Regions from separate parts of the Homo sapiens genome. Here region 2 is linked to region 1. The links are contacts of gene promoters, found by promoter capture Hi-C in blood cells and fetal thymus (Javierre and others, 2016). All regions are on one chromosome and are shown on one strand. Each heading gives the region's core, a stretch centred on a gene start or on the middle of the fragment in contact. The rest is flanking DNA. Distances are from core to core; before and after follow the strand shown. Region 1 holds the start of GKN1 (gastrokine 1). Region 2 overlaps ANTXR1 (ANTXR cell adhesion molecule 1).

Evidence for each region. Contacts are between HindIII fragments. The CHiCAGO score rates a contact against its expected background, and 5 or more counts as called.
Region 2: a fragment that was not itself captured here is called in contact with the fragment with the promoter of GKN1 in region 1 in 2 of 17 cell types (megakaryocytes and M0 macrophages); the score reaches 5.6 in megakaryocytes.

Annotation. Positions count from the first base shown.
Region 1 is chr2:68,971,698-68,977,763 of GRCh38, forward strand. It overlaps GKN1 (gastrokine 1), which reads left to right and starts at 2,939. Exons shown (of 6, transcript NM_019617.4): 1 at 2,939-2,992; 2 at 5,798-5,851; 3 at 5,940-6,066. The coding sequence starts at 2,981. RefSeq lists a silencer at 429-661. The HindIII fragment of the contact is 2,059 bases long and covers 1,502-3,560 here.
Region 2 is chr2:69,224,497-69,230,562 of GRCh38, forward strand. The region is part of intron 17 of ANTXR1 (ANTXR cell adhesion molecule 1); the gene reads left to right. LOC124906019 (a long non-coding RNA gene) reads left to right here. Exons shown (of 2, transcript XR_007086799.1): 2 at 82-394. Among named protein-coding and RNA genes, the nearest start is that of MIR3126, 120 kb to the left of the region's middle. The HindIII fragment of the contact is 771 bases long and covers 2,307-3,077 here.

The sequences.
Region 1 (6,066 bases), core at 1,689-4,188:
AGTAGAATGAAGCCTTGGGTGTGTGTGCATTGTGAGATAAAATGACGATAGGGGCTTGTTTCTTGGCATGGCCCAGCATCAATCTCTGTAGGCAGGGCAGGCTCTATTTACCCATGGGCTGATTTGTTCCACACTAACCCCAAGCCACAGAGGTCACACCATCAACTGAGACTCCCTCAATGTGTCATCACAGCCAGTGTAGGGCAGCCCCTCTCAGGCTGGCACCAAAACCAGAAATGACTAAATATAACGCACTTTTTATCCTGTAGCTTAACATCTCCTTTACGCAAGTAAAATTTTTACAAGGGGCCTACTGAGCACCATATATGTGTCTGCATATTTTAGATTCTATGGAGGTGACCAAAAACATTGGTATGTTCTGTCTTCCTGGGAAGACATTCTTCTTCAAGGGAAGAATGAAACATAAAACACAGTTCTCAGGGCAAAAGTCTTGCTCATGCTTCATTAGGACTTTTGGCCTTGGATGAGACCAGGATTGAGGTGAGGGTTGACCCCCACCTTGACCCCCACACTCCCTCTCCCCCAACCTCCCACACCACACAAAGTACAGAAAAAGAAGTTTTTCTGGTTGTAGAGCCATTGAAGTAACAAATATTGTATAAAGGAGGAATTTCTTCTCTTTTACCCACAAGAAACCTAAGGCCTAAACCAAAAAAATAAATGACTCATTGAAAGATGGGAAAATAGAATCTAGGTCTCCTGGCTCCCAGCTTCATCCAGTAGCTCCCCAAATGGGTTTTCAAATCCAGGGTGCATCCTCAGAGGTGGCACAATTTTTTCACTAAGGCAGGGGTCCCCAGAGTTGTTATGAGATGTTAGGACAAATAAATAAAAGAAAAAGGGAAAACGATCAGGTTCTGTAGTCAACTAAGATGAGAAGAACCTGGATGAAACAGAGATTTTTCCCCTATAAATTTCTTAGCCCATTTGATGTGTGAATGTGAATTGTCAGTCTCTAAAGGGGGGATTATTGGACCCGGAACTCTACCTATGTATCTATGTATGTGTGTGTATCTATGTGTGTATACGTGTGTATGTATGTATGTATGTATGTATGTATGTATCTATCTATCTATCTATCTATCTATCTATCTATCTATCTGTCTGTCTGTCTGTCATGGAACATCTTCCAGACCAGCATTTCACAGGTCCACTGCAGAACTTCAGGCCCTTGTCCTTGGTATGACATGCAAAATGTGTGCTGGGCACTGCACCTGTGTACCAAGATGACTACTGGTGGCTGAGTTTAAACGTAGAGACCATGCTACCCACTCATTGACTTCTCAGTGACATGAAGTTTCCTAAAGCAGATGAAGGCCTCTTCACACATGTCTGCCCCTTACTCCAGGCTTATTACCTTCTGTGGATAAAGAGTGAGTTTGAAAGAAATCAGTGGACACATTAAAAAATATCCAGTAATACTGCAGCTGTTCTAATCCACTCCTACCAACAGTTTTGAAGAGATGTTGATAGCGAATCAAGCTTTATAACCATGTGATCCCATCTTATGGTTTCAATCCATGCACAGGAGGAAAATTGTGGGCACGAAGTTTCCAAAGGGAAAATTTATAGATTGGTAGTTAATGAAATACAGTTTTCCTCCTTGGCAAATTTAATTTACTAGCTTCACTGTATAGGAAAAAGCAGGAAAAAAATTAAAACCAACTCACCTCCAAACCTGTTTTGAGCTTTTACTTGTCTGCCCAATTGATAGTTTCTACTCTCTGCTTTTGATGAAAATATTTTTTATTATTTTAATGTAACTTCTGAAAACTAAATTATCTAGAAGCAAATAAAAAGATATTGCTTTTATAGTTCCCAGAAGGAAAAAACAAACACTAGGAAAGTTCTATCTATCAGATGGGGGAGATGTGATGGAGGCAGTGATATTTGAGCTGAGCCTTGAACAATGAACAGGAGTCTACCAAGCGAGAGGCTAGCGGGTGGCCCTCCAAGATAAAACAACAGCATGTACAAAGGCATGGAGACATACACATCTTGACTTTTCCAGGAATGGTGGGAACGCTGGTGGAGCTAGAATGTAGGTACATAGCATAAAGTGGCAGACGGGAAGCCTTTGGAAATCTTATTACATAGGACCCTGGATGCCATTCCAATGACTTTGAATTTTCTGTAGGCTGCCAGCGAAATTTCCAAGCGTGATAGAGTCATGTCTATCTATGCACTTCAGAAAGACAACCTCAGGGTTAATGAAGAAAATGCATTGGAATATAAGAAACTGGTGACCAGAGTGATCAATTGCATGACTGTTGTGAAAGTCCAGGTGAGGGGAGCTGTGGGCAAGGTCAGAGTTGAGAGGCATTTCAGAGATAAAATGACAGTAACTAAGTAGATGTCAGACTGAGAAGAAAGGGCTGTACCAGATATATGGTGCTATCATTAAGTGAGCTCAACATTGCAGAAAAGGGGTAGGTTTGGTGGGAGTTGCTCACAAAACATGTTTAGTCTAAGCAAAACCATTGCCATGGGCTCAGATAAAAGTTAAGAAGTGGAAACCATTCCTACATTCCTATAGGAGCTGCTATCTGGAAGGCCTAGTATACACGTGGCTTTTCAGCTGTGATTTTGTTTGATTTTAGGGATTATTCTTTTTCTGAATCTGAGCAATGTTAGCGTGTAAAATACTCACGCCCACAGCTTTGACTGGGTGAGAAGTTATCATAAATCATATTGAGTTTGTTGTGATACCTTCAGCTTCAACAAGTGATGAGTCAGGTCAACTCCATGTGAAAGTTCCTTGCTAAGCATGCAGATATTCTGAAAGGTTTCCTGGTACACTGGCTCATGGCACAGATAGGAGAAATTGAGGAAGGTAAGTCTTTGACCCCACCTGATAACACCTAGTTTGAGTCAACCTGGTTAAGTACAAATATGAGAAGGCTTCTCATTCAGGTCCATGCTTGCCTACTCCTCTGTCCACTGCTTTCGTGAAGACAAGATGAAGTTCACAGTGAGTAGATTTTTCCTTTTGAATTTACCACCAAATGATTGGAGACTGTCAATATTCTGAGATTTAGGAGGTCTGCTTCTTATGGCCCCATCATGGAAAATTTGTTTTAAAAAAATTCTCTCTTCAAACACATGGACACAGAGAGGGGAACAACACACACTAGGTCCTGTTGGGGGGTGGAGAGTGAGGGGAGGGAACTTAGAGGACAGGTCAATAGGGGCAGCAAACCACCATGGCACACATATACCTATGTAACAAACCTGCACGTTCTGCACATGTATCCCTTTTTTTTAGAAGAAGAAATAATGAAAAAAAATCTTTTTTCTATTTATATAATCATGGCATTTATAAGCATCTCTATAGAGAAGGATAATTGTGCTGAGATTAGACAGCTGTCTGAGCACCTCACACTGACCTATTTTTAACAAAATGACTTTCCGCATCACCTGATTCCGGTCTCCATGCAGGGTAAGCAGTTCCTAAGCCCTAGAAAGTGCCGATCATCCCTCATTCTTGAATTCCTCCTTTTATTTACCAAAATTCCTGAGCATGTTCAGGAAAGATGAAAAGCTTATTATCAAAATAAGTGGCTGAGATAGACTTCTTGTCACATTTGTTACAGTAAAATGGGTCTCCAAGAAAGAAAGATTTGCCTTGGGCTCTAGCATGGCCATTTATTTAAGAAAGCATCTGAAACATGAAGCTACCACAGCATCTCTCCTGTGGTTCCAGACAGAAGCCTGAGAGTCTAGGAGGAGGTGGACCGAGAAACCCTGCCAAAGTAACTAGTAGTGCCGGGTTTCTCACAACACGATGCAAAGGGGCTAGAATCAGATGACTATTTTCATGTTTCAACATACTACACACTGGAAAACGTTACGGCAGACTCTACTTTATAATGGGGCTGCAAATGTAAAATGACTACCTAGAACTAGGTCCTCTTAATAGCAGCAAAGTTTAAAAGGGTCAGAGGGAGCTCCAGACACAGGTTAGATTTGATTTCTCTCCTAGTTCTGCTGTGAACAAGAGGTATAAGTTTGGCCAACTCACTTAACCCCTGAAGCTCAGTTACCTTATCTGTAAAATGATTGCATTGTACTAGGTGTTCTCTAAAATTTCTTCTACCTCTGACTTTTTAGGAGACTAATTTTTAACTCCTTTTTAAGCTATTGGGAGAAAAATTTAATTTTTTTTCAAAAGTTACCTTGAATCTCTAGAGCAGTTCTCAAAACTATTTTGTCCCAGGCAAAGGAAATGAGACTAGGTACCCAGAATGAGGCACCCTGCATAAAGCTCTGTGCTCTGAAAACCAATGTCAGGGACCCTGTGATAAATAATTAAACCAAGTATCCTGGGACACTGCTAGTGACATCGCCTCTGCTGATCACTCTTGCCAGCGAGACACTCTATACTTGCTTTCTCATCATTGGCATCCAAACTGCCTACTAATCCATTGCTTTGGAAAGTTTTTTTTAATAAAAAGATTATTTCTATTAGGAAGAAAACATCCCATGTTAAATAGGAAAATTAACTGAAATCATTTTCAGATGTGATTTTTAGCACTTATAGCCATCTCAAACCATAGTATTCATTTATACTATGCTATTTATTGTAAAACTTCTTTTTTTTTCCAAGGAAAATAAGATAGTTTGCTTTATTTTAAAACAGTAACTTTCTTATATTGGGGCACTGACCAAAATTCAATACTGGTACAAATATGTTACCTAGGAGGTCAAAATATGTGCCAGGTGAATTTTCTGAATTTCTCTAAAGAGAGAATTTTAAACCTTATAAAACAATTAGAAACAAGTGAGTGAGAGGTGAGCATCAACAACCTGTGTAACATAAGCCACAGTACAAATTTAAGCTGAATAACCAAGCCATGTCAGTTATCCCAAATCATTTTTGTTAATATTTAGGAGGATACACATATTTTCAATAACTTAAAAGTGAATCTTTACTCCTATCTCTTAATACTCGAAGAAGTATAACTTTCTTCTTTTACTAGATTTAAATAATCCAAATATCTACTCAAGGTAGGATGCTGTCATTAACTATAGCTGAGTTTATCCAAAATAGAAAAATCATGAAGATTTATAAAGCATTTTAAAAATAATCATTTATAGCAAGTCCTTGAAAGCTCTAAATAAGAAAGGCAGTTCTCTACTTTCTAATAACACCTATGGTTTATATTACATAATATAATTCAACAAAACAGCATTCTGACCAATGATAATTTATAGGAAATTCATTTGCCAAGTATATGTTTTATTATAAAGTTAATATTTTGACCAATCTTAAAAATTTTTAAACTCTATTCTGACATTTCCAGAAGTATTATCTTAGCAAAGTCATCTTTATGATACCACTTATTAAACTGAAGAGAAACAAGATGGTACATTCTGGGTTTTACTTTAAAAGGGATTTGATTCAATAATTTGATTTATCACTACTTGAAAATTACATTTTCTTCCTCAGTACTGGATGGCAATGAGATGAAAGCAGCTTTCCTGGCTCTCAACTTCCCTTCTTCATCAATTTTTCCAGCGTTTCATAAGGCCTACACTAAAAATTCTAAAACTATATATCACATTAATATAATTACTTATAATTAATCAGCAATTTCACATTATCGTTAAAACCTTTATGGTTAAAAAATGCAAGGTAAGAGAAGAAAAAAACACATTGAACTAGAACTGAACACATTGGTAAAATTAGTGAATACTTTTCATAAGCTTGGATAGAGGAAGAAAGAAGACATCATTTTGCCATGTAACAGGAGACCAATGTTATTTGTGATTTCAGATTGTCTTTGCTGGACTTCTTGGAGTCTTTCTAGCTCCTGCCCTAGCTAACTATGTAAGTCTCACCTTTTCAAGTTTGCTACCAAAATGCATTTGCAAGGAAATGTGATATTAAATCACTCTCAATCTCTTATAAACTTCAGAATATCAACGTCAATGATGACAACAACAATGCTGGAAGTGGGCAGCAGTCAGTGAGTGTCAACAATGAACACAATGTGGCCAATGTTGACAATAACAACGGATGGGACTCCTGGAATTCCATCTGGG
Region 2 (6,066 bases), core at 1,442-3,941, 250 kb after region 1:
CTGCCCTCAAATCTCTACCTCCCTGCAAGTGCCCTACTTCCAAGTTTCAGAACTTGGGCTTGCATTCCATTCCATCCCTAGGGAGAGAGCCTGCAGGGCCCCACCGTTGCTCAGGCCCTCTCTTGACCAGAGCATAAAGGATTGGCAGACACTCTGGCAGGATCCTGCACAGCAGTCTTCAGATACAGCTGCTCTTCCATCCCCAAACATGAAAATCTGTGGCTCCTGGCAGCTTGGAAAATGTCATTTTCCCATGAAAATGACGTAAGAGGCAGAAGAGTCTCAACTCCACTCTCTGTTACAAAAGTATTCCTCCTAAAATATTAATATTTGCGCTTAGTCCATATTATACCATGTGACTAACATATGAAAAGAAATCTTCTTGGAGATTAAACAAGTCTCTCTTGGGCTCATTGCACAGTTTGGGGAGGTAAGCTCCAGGTCAGAAGCTGCCTGGAGACATCTAGAGTGTCACCCTCCCTCCGTTTTCTGTGGTGTTCCCAGCCTATGTGAATGAGCTCATGTGCTGACCTCCTGGCCAGCCCCTCTCTTCCCTTCTCTGTAGTGCTCTGCACACTTTGGTCCTTTTGCCTCCCCCCATTCCCTCAAAATTTGACATTCCTATGTCCCTTTATCCCGATCACCACCACTCAAATTTCACAGTCCCGAGCACCCTTTCCCTGGCCTCAAAAGAATAGATCTTTATGCTGGCTAACCCACATGTTACTGGATGCCAGTGTCCAGGGAATTTCTCTCCTGGGTAACACTCTGGCATTTTAAAAGGAGTCTCCATGAGATGCCCACAGGGGATCCCTAATGTTGAAAATATCAGACTGAGCCGGGGACAGTGGCATATGCCTGTAGTCCCAGCTACTCGGGAGGCCAAAGTGGAAGGATCGCTTGAGCCCAGTAGGTTGAGGCTGCAGTGAGCCATGATCATGACACCGCACTCTAGCCTGGGCGACAAAGTGAATTTAAAAATTTATTTTTTATTTTATTAAATAATTTAAAAATACATATATCAGACCAATTGGTAGTCTGGACATGTCCGGGGTGCAGAGAGTAGGAAGAAGACACCTCAAGGCAGGGAAATTTTGGTGTTCTGCTCAGCTCGCTACCAGAGGCACTCATTAACCTCATGGGTAGGGGAGAAGCAAGGGAGATGGGATGCAGGAGAGAGGCGAGCTGAGAAAAAGCAACAGGTTTAGAGAAACTGATGATGCAAACCCCCAAACTCCCTCTCCAGCTTCACAATGTAGTTCTTTAGCCTCTTCAGGGAGCTTATGGATTGAACACTAGCAAATGTTGGGTGCTATTCCAGAGCTTCTTTTAGGCCAAAACCAAATAATATGACAAAGTCCCTGCCTTCAAAGAAAGAAGGCTGAAAGGCAAGAAAGGACCAGGTGGGAATTGTGATGGCCGGAAAGAGGACAAGGAGTATTGCTGTTACTATTGGGCTTTTTGCTTATTCATAATTTCAACCACTGCATAGCTAAGACTCCCAGAAAATCAGAGTGAGCTGTTCAGAACTGCAGTGTGTCCCCACACTGCCTCTCCATTGCATTCCTCTGCCTCAGTCCCAGCCACATCTCTCAGCCTCAAGAATCCTGTTCCTCAATGAGGGGGTTGGTAGCCATAGCTCGGGGGAGTGGGCCAAACCACGAGCACCCCCACTCATTGCAGGGTCTTTGGAGACTGAACAGAGATTGTTCTTACTAAGCATGAGGTCACCTTTCTTTTCCTGGACTGTCTGGATTCACAGAGTTTCTTTGGGTTCTCTGGCTGAATTCACTCCAGGGCTGATCTCTGTGAGCAGCCCCTGGGATCTAGCTCAGAGAGACTCCTCCAGGGCCCAGTCCTCATCCCCTGTGGAATGGGACCTAGTGAAAGACCAGTCAATTGGGGAAGGATGTGGAGCAGGTCATGAGGCCGGAGGAAGGCAAAGGTCAAGCTAGTTCCAAAGGCCTCATCAAGCGGTAGGAAATGGGAGAGCCTAGGAGCCAAAATGGTGGTTGAGAAGTAAGAAATGCTGCAAGCCAGGAGCAGCAACAAAAGCAGTGAGAGGAGGCTGAGAAGAATTCGGGAGTCAGAGGCCCATCCAGGTACTTGGGGTGACCTTGTTATCCTGGTAAGGGTTTGTGCAACTAGGAGGAACCATTGAAATAGAAGAAATGAAGTAGAGGTCATACCGTTTGTCATCTCTCCAAGTGGAGCTTTCTGCTGAGTCCACTTTTAATGAACAAATAAAATTCGTTGGTAATTAGCGACATTCTTTATTTATAATCCAGGTGCTGAAATCCCCCCAAAGCTTTACCCTGCCTCTTTCCAAAAGATTTAACATATATATTTTTTTTCCTCTTAAAGATTCCTCTTACAGTCTCAATATGAGTCCAACAACCATTTCTTCCCAGATCATACAGAACACGAGCTCAGCCCAGCCTGGGGAGAAGTATCACAGACATTTAATTAGTGCAGGCTGGATTCGTGAAGCATTTCGTGCACCATGAAAATGGGGCATTTTGATACTGGCTCATGGTCTTATTTCAGATCCAACTTCTACATGGTCTTGCAATTAGGAAGAGTACTGGGGCCCAGTGGAAGCCTGAAAACAGTTTTGAGGTTGGATAACTTCATGCTTTTTTTTACTCCTAAATGAATCCCAGATTTTGAGTGCTGTAAATTTTCTGTTTTTCTGTCTGACATCAGCCAGAATACTTCAGGGTTTTGACTACTGTCTTCCTTTAGTTTTATCTGAGAGGCACTCTGGCAGGATCATGGCAGCCCTTACCTAAAAAGCAGATAAGTCCAGGAAACAGTCCAGAGGCTTCTGGGAGCCAGCTGGGCAGGTCTCACCTCTTCAAAGGTGGGCATCCAACTCCATGGTCAAAAAGTAAGAGGCTGCCCAAAGCCCAGCCTAATCCCAGAAGATCACCACAAGAGCCTACCACAGCACCCCAAATGCCCAGCACTGGGGCCGCTCCTTTAGAATAAAATACTGTCATCAGAAGGTTCCTTTCTTGAATTATATTATTTAGGTTAGAAGTTCAGCTGACCTACCAAAAGCCCAAAATAATACAAGCTTCAACTATCGAACTTTTTTTTCCCCTCTCACATATAACTCTCCGGGAATAAACTGTCCAGGATCAACATGGCAGCTCCATGCTGTCAGGTGCCCAGGCTCCTTCCATCTTGTTTCTCCACCACCCCAAGAGTGTGGTTCTTGTCAGCATAGTCCAAGAATGAAAAGGGTTAGGGTGTGCCCTTTAAGGCACAGCTTAGAATTTGGACATATAATTTCTGCTCACATTCAGCTGGCCAGAGCATAGATTACATGGCCACACCTTGATGCAAAGGAAGCCACACCCACCTGCAATCCTTGCACCACACTAGGTCAAGCTCAGCATCATTTACTGCCTCTTGAAGCAGCTTTTGCAAGGAAGGCTGGGAAATGTAGTCATTGCTGGCTGGTCATGTGGCCAGTGAAACTCAGGGGTTCTACTACTAAAGGAAGAAAGTGAAAATGCATATGAGAGACAGTTATCAATCTCTGTCACAGTATATTTTTGTGTCTATGGAAAGATAGAGCCTATTAAGAAATAAACCACTATAGTGGACCCAGCTTGTGGATCTGATTAGAGGTTTGTCCCTTAGAAAGCACAGAGGATTATAAGGGGAGAGGCACATAGGACAAGTAAATTATGATTGGAAAAAGGGATAGGGATACACAAGGCACTTCTCCAGGAAGGGTTGCTGCAGGGCACTGAAATCCTAAAGAAGGAAGAAATAGAGACATGGAAAGCTGGAACAGAACAACGGAGGCTGGGTAAGTGTTGGGACCCGTGGAAACTTCTCAAATGGGTAATATTACTGGTGGCCAACTCTTTTCATGGCTATGCTTCTTGATTCATTCTGCCCTAGATTCATTCCAATCTAAAAGCACATGTTGCTCAAAAGAAAGAGCATAGAGTCTAAACAGACCTCGATTTATATCTTCACTCGGTCACTTACTTACAGAGATAGCCTGGGAAAATTACGCAGCCCCTGAGCCATTTCTACATTTTTGAATCAGGATAATGGGGATATTAACCAATGGTGCTTTTAGGAGAACAAAATGAGTTGATGAATATAAAGCAGCTAGTACCAAGCCTGGCATAGGGTAAGCACTCAGTGAGTGGCATTTGGGATTAGTATGAAACTTTTCACTCCATAACAAACAACTTGTCCCTCAAATGAATACATATGAGTAGGGGGCTTGGCCAGTGTGACAATGTTGTGGGATAGGAAAAAGGTGCATGTGTGAAGTGCTGAGAACCTAGCAGACACCTACCCATTTAGGATGCTTCTCTTAGTGTGCTCAGGCTGCCATAACAAAATACTATGGACTGTGGGCCTTAAACAACAGAAATTTATTTTCTCACAGTACTGGAGACTGGAGGTCTGAGATCAGGGTGCCAGTGTGATCAGGTTCTGGTGAGGCCCCTCTTCCAGGCTGTGTGCTCACATAGCCATTTCTTGGTGCATGTGTGAGTAGAATGAAAACAAGCCCTGTGGGAACTCTTCTTCTAAGGGGACCAACCCCATCATGAGGGAGGCACCCTCATGACCTCATCCAACCCTAAGTTCCTCCCAAAGACCCCACCCTCAAATACTATCCCACTGGAGGCTGAGGCTTCAACACATGGATTTGGGGAGACACACACATTCGGTCCATAACAGTGCCACTCACTGGCAACAATACAGGAAGCACAGAAGCAAACTTGTTCTTTTTTAAAAAAATTAATATTCCATTTTGGGGAAAAGGTGTTGACAGCTACTGGCATAGGAAAAGAACTCATCCTGAAGATGGCATTCCTCGATTGGTGCAAAAGAAGAAAACAAACCTTCATCCATGAGCTTGTATATATGGAGCGGGATGATATCAGCGCTGTGCACCAGATGAATCAGTAATTTTTACATTTTCACATCCAAGCTAAATAGTGCTCTTGACCAAAAAATCTTAGTCGGTTTATCTTCTGGCACCAATATTTAAAGCAAATACCTCAACATAAATAAAATAATAAATTGAAAGACTATACTAATTGTCGTTCTAAGTAGTTAGAGTCATTTAACTGGGGACAGGAAAAATATCCTCAAGATTCTTAACAGGTGAGACAGAAAGGGCAAGAAGGAAGACTCTAAATAATATTAGTTCATCCTGGGTCAGACTTTCACTCACTCAGCATGACCATGCCATGGTGGTTTTTTTTTTTTTTTTAATCTTAGAAAAGTGCATTAAATCTAAAGTATTAGTGAGACCCATCCAAAATGTTGATTAAAACCAGGCTCTTTGGAGAAGTAATTGCTACACTGCTTGGCAGGACCCAGGAGTGTACATTGGACTTGATGCCATTGATGAAGAGATGATGGTCAGTACCAATGGCTGGTTTTAAGAAGAGCAAAGTTAAGAAACAATATTTAGGATGTGCCACACTGGGTCACCACTCAGCATGATTTGCTTCCTCTTAATGTTTTCAACTTTCTCTACCACCTCTAAAGTATACTACCCAGGGTATCTCTGCATAATTCTTTGTCTTGCCCCTTTGAAAGGTTTGAATTCTCAGAGCCAGTCCCTGTTTAGTGACAGCACTTTGGCCACCTGATCACTTTTCCTAAATCTCCTTTCTCCAACCCTATTTTGTCTTTATTTTTTGAAATTTGTCAGAACTAAACAGGTGCAAACAAAACATGCCATGATTTTATATAGTGCTATGAGATTTAAAGAAGGGATTTAAGCATCAGACAAGGAGGTTTTATTTCCTTATGTCATCTAGTATATTTTTGCCTTTTTTAGCTACAATGGTTTATCGACCTTCCTCAGGGGCCATCAGAGTGAGTCCTTTACCACTTGGCCTTACAGTTTCATTCATTTGTATGGCAAGTAGTTGTAACTTTACGCGTAGGGTAGACATGGAGAGTTAGCATTTCATATAGCCTTAGGACAGAGTTTGTTCATCCCTATTTTGATGGCACGGCTACTTTATCTTACTGTGTTTCCTCTGTGTCCAAGTATTTATTAATATTTTTTAA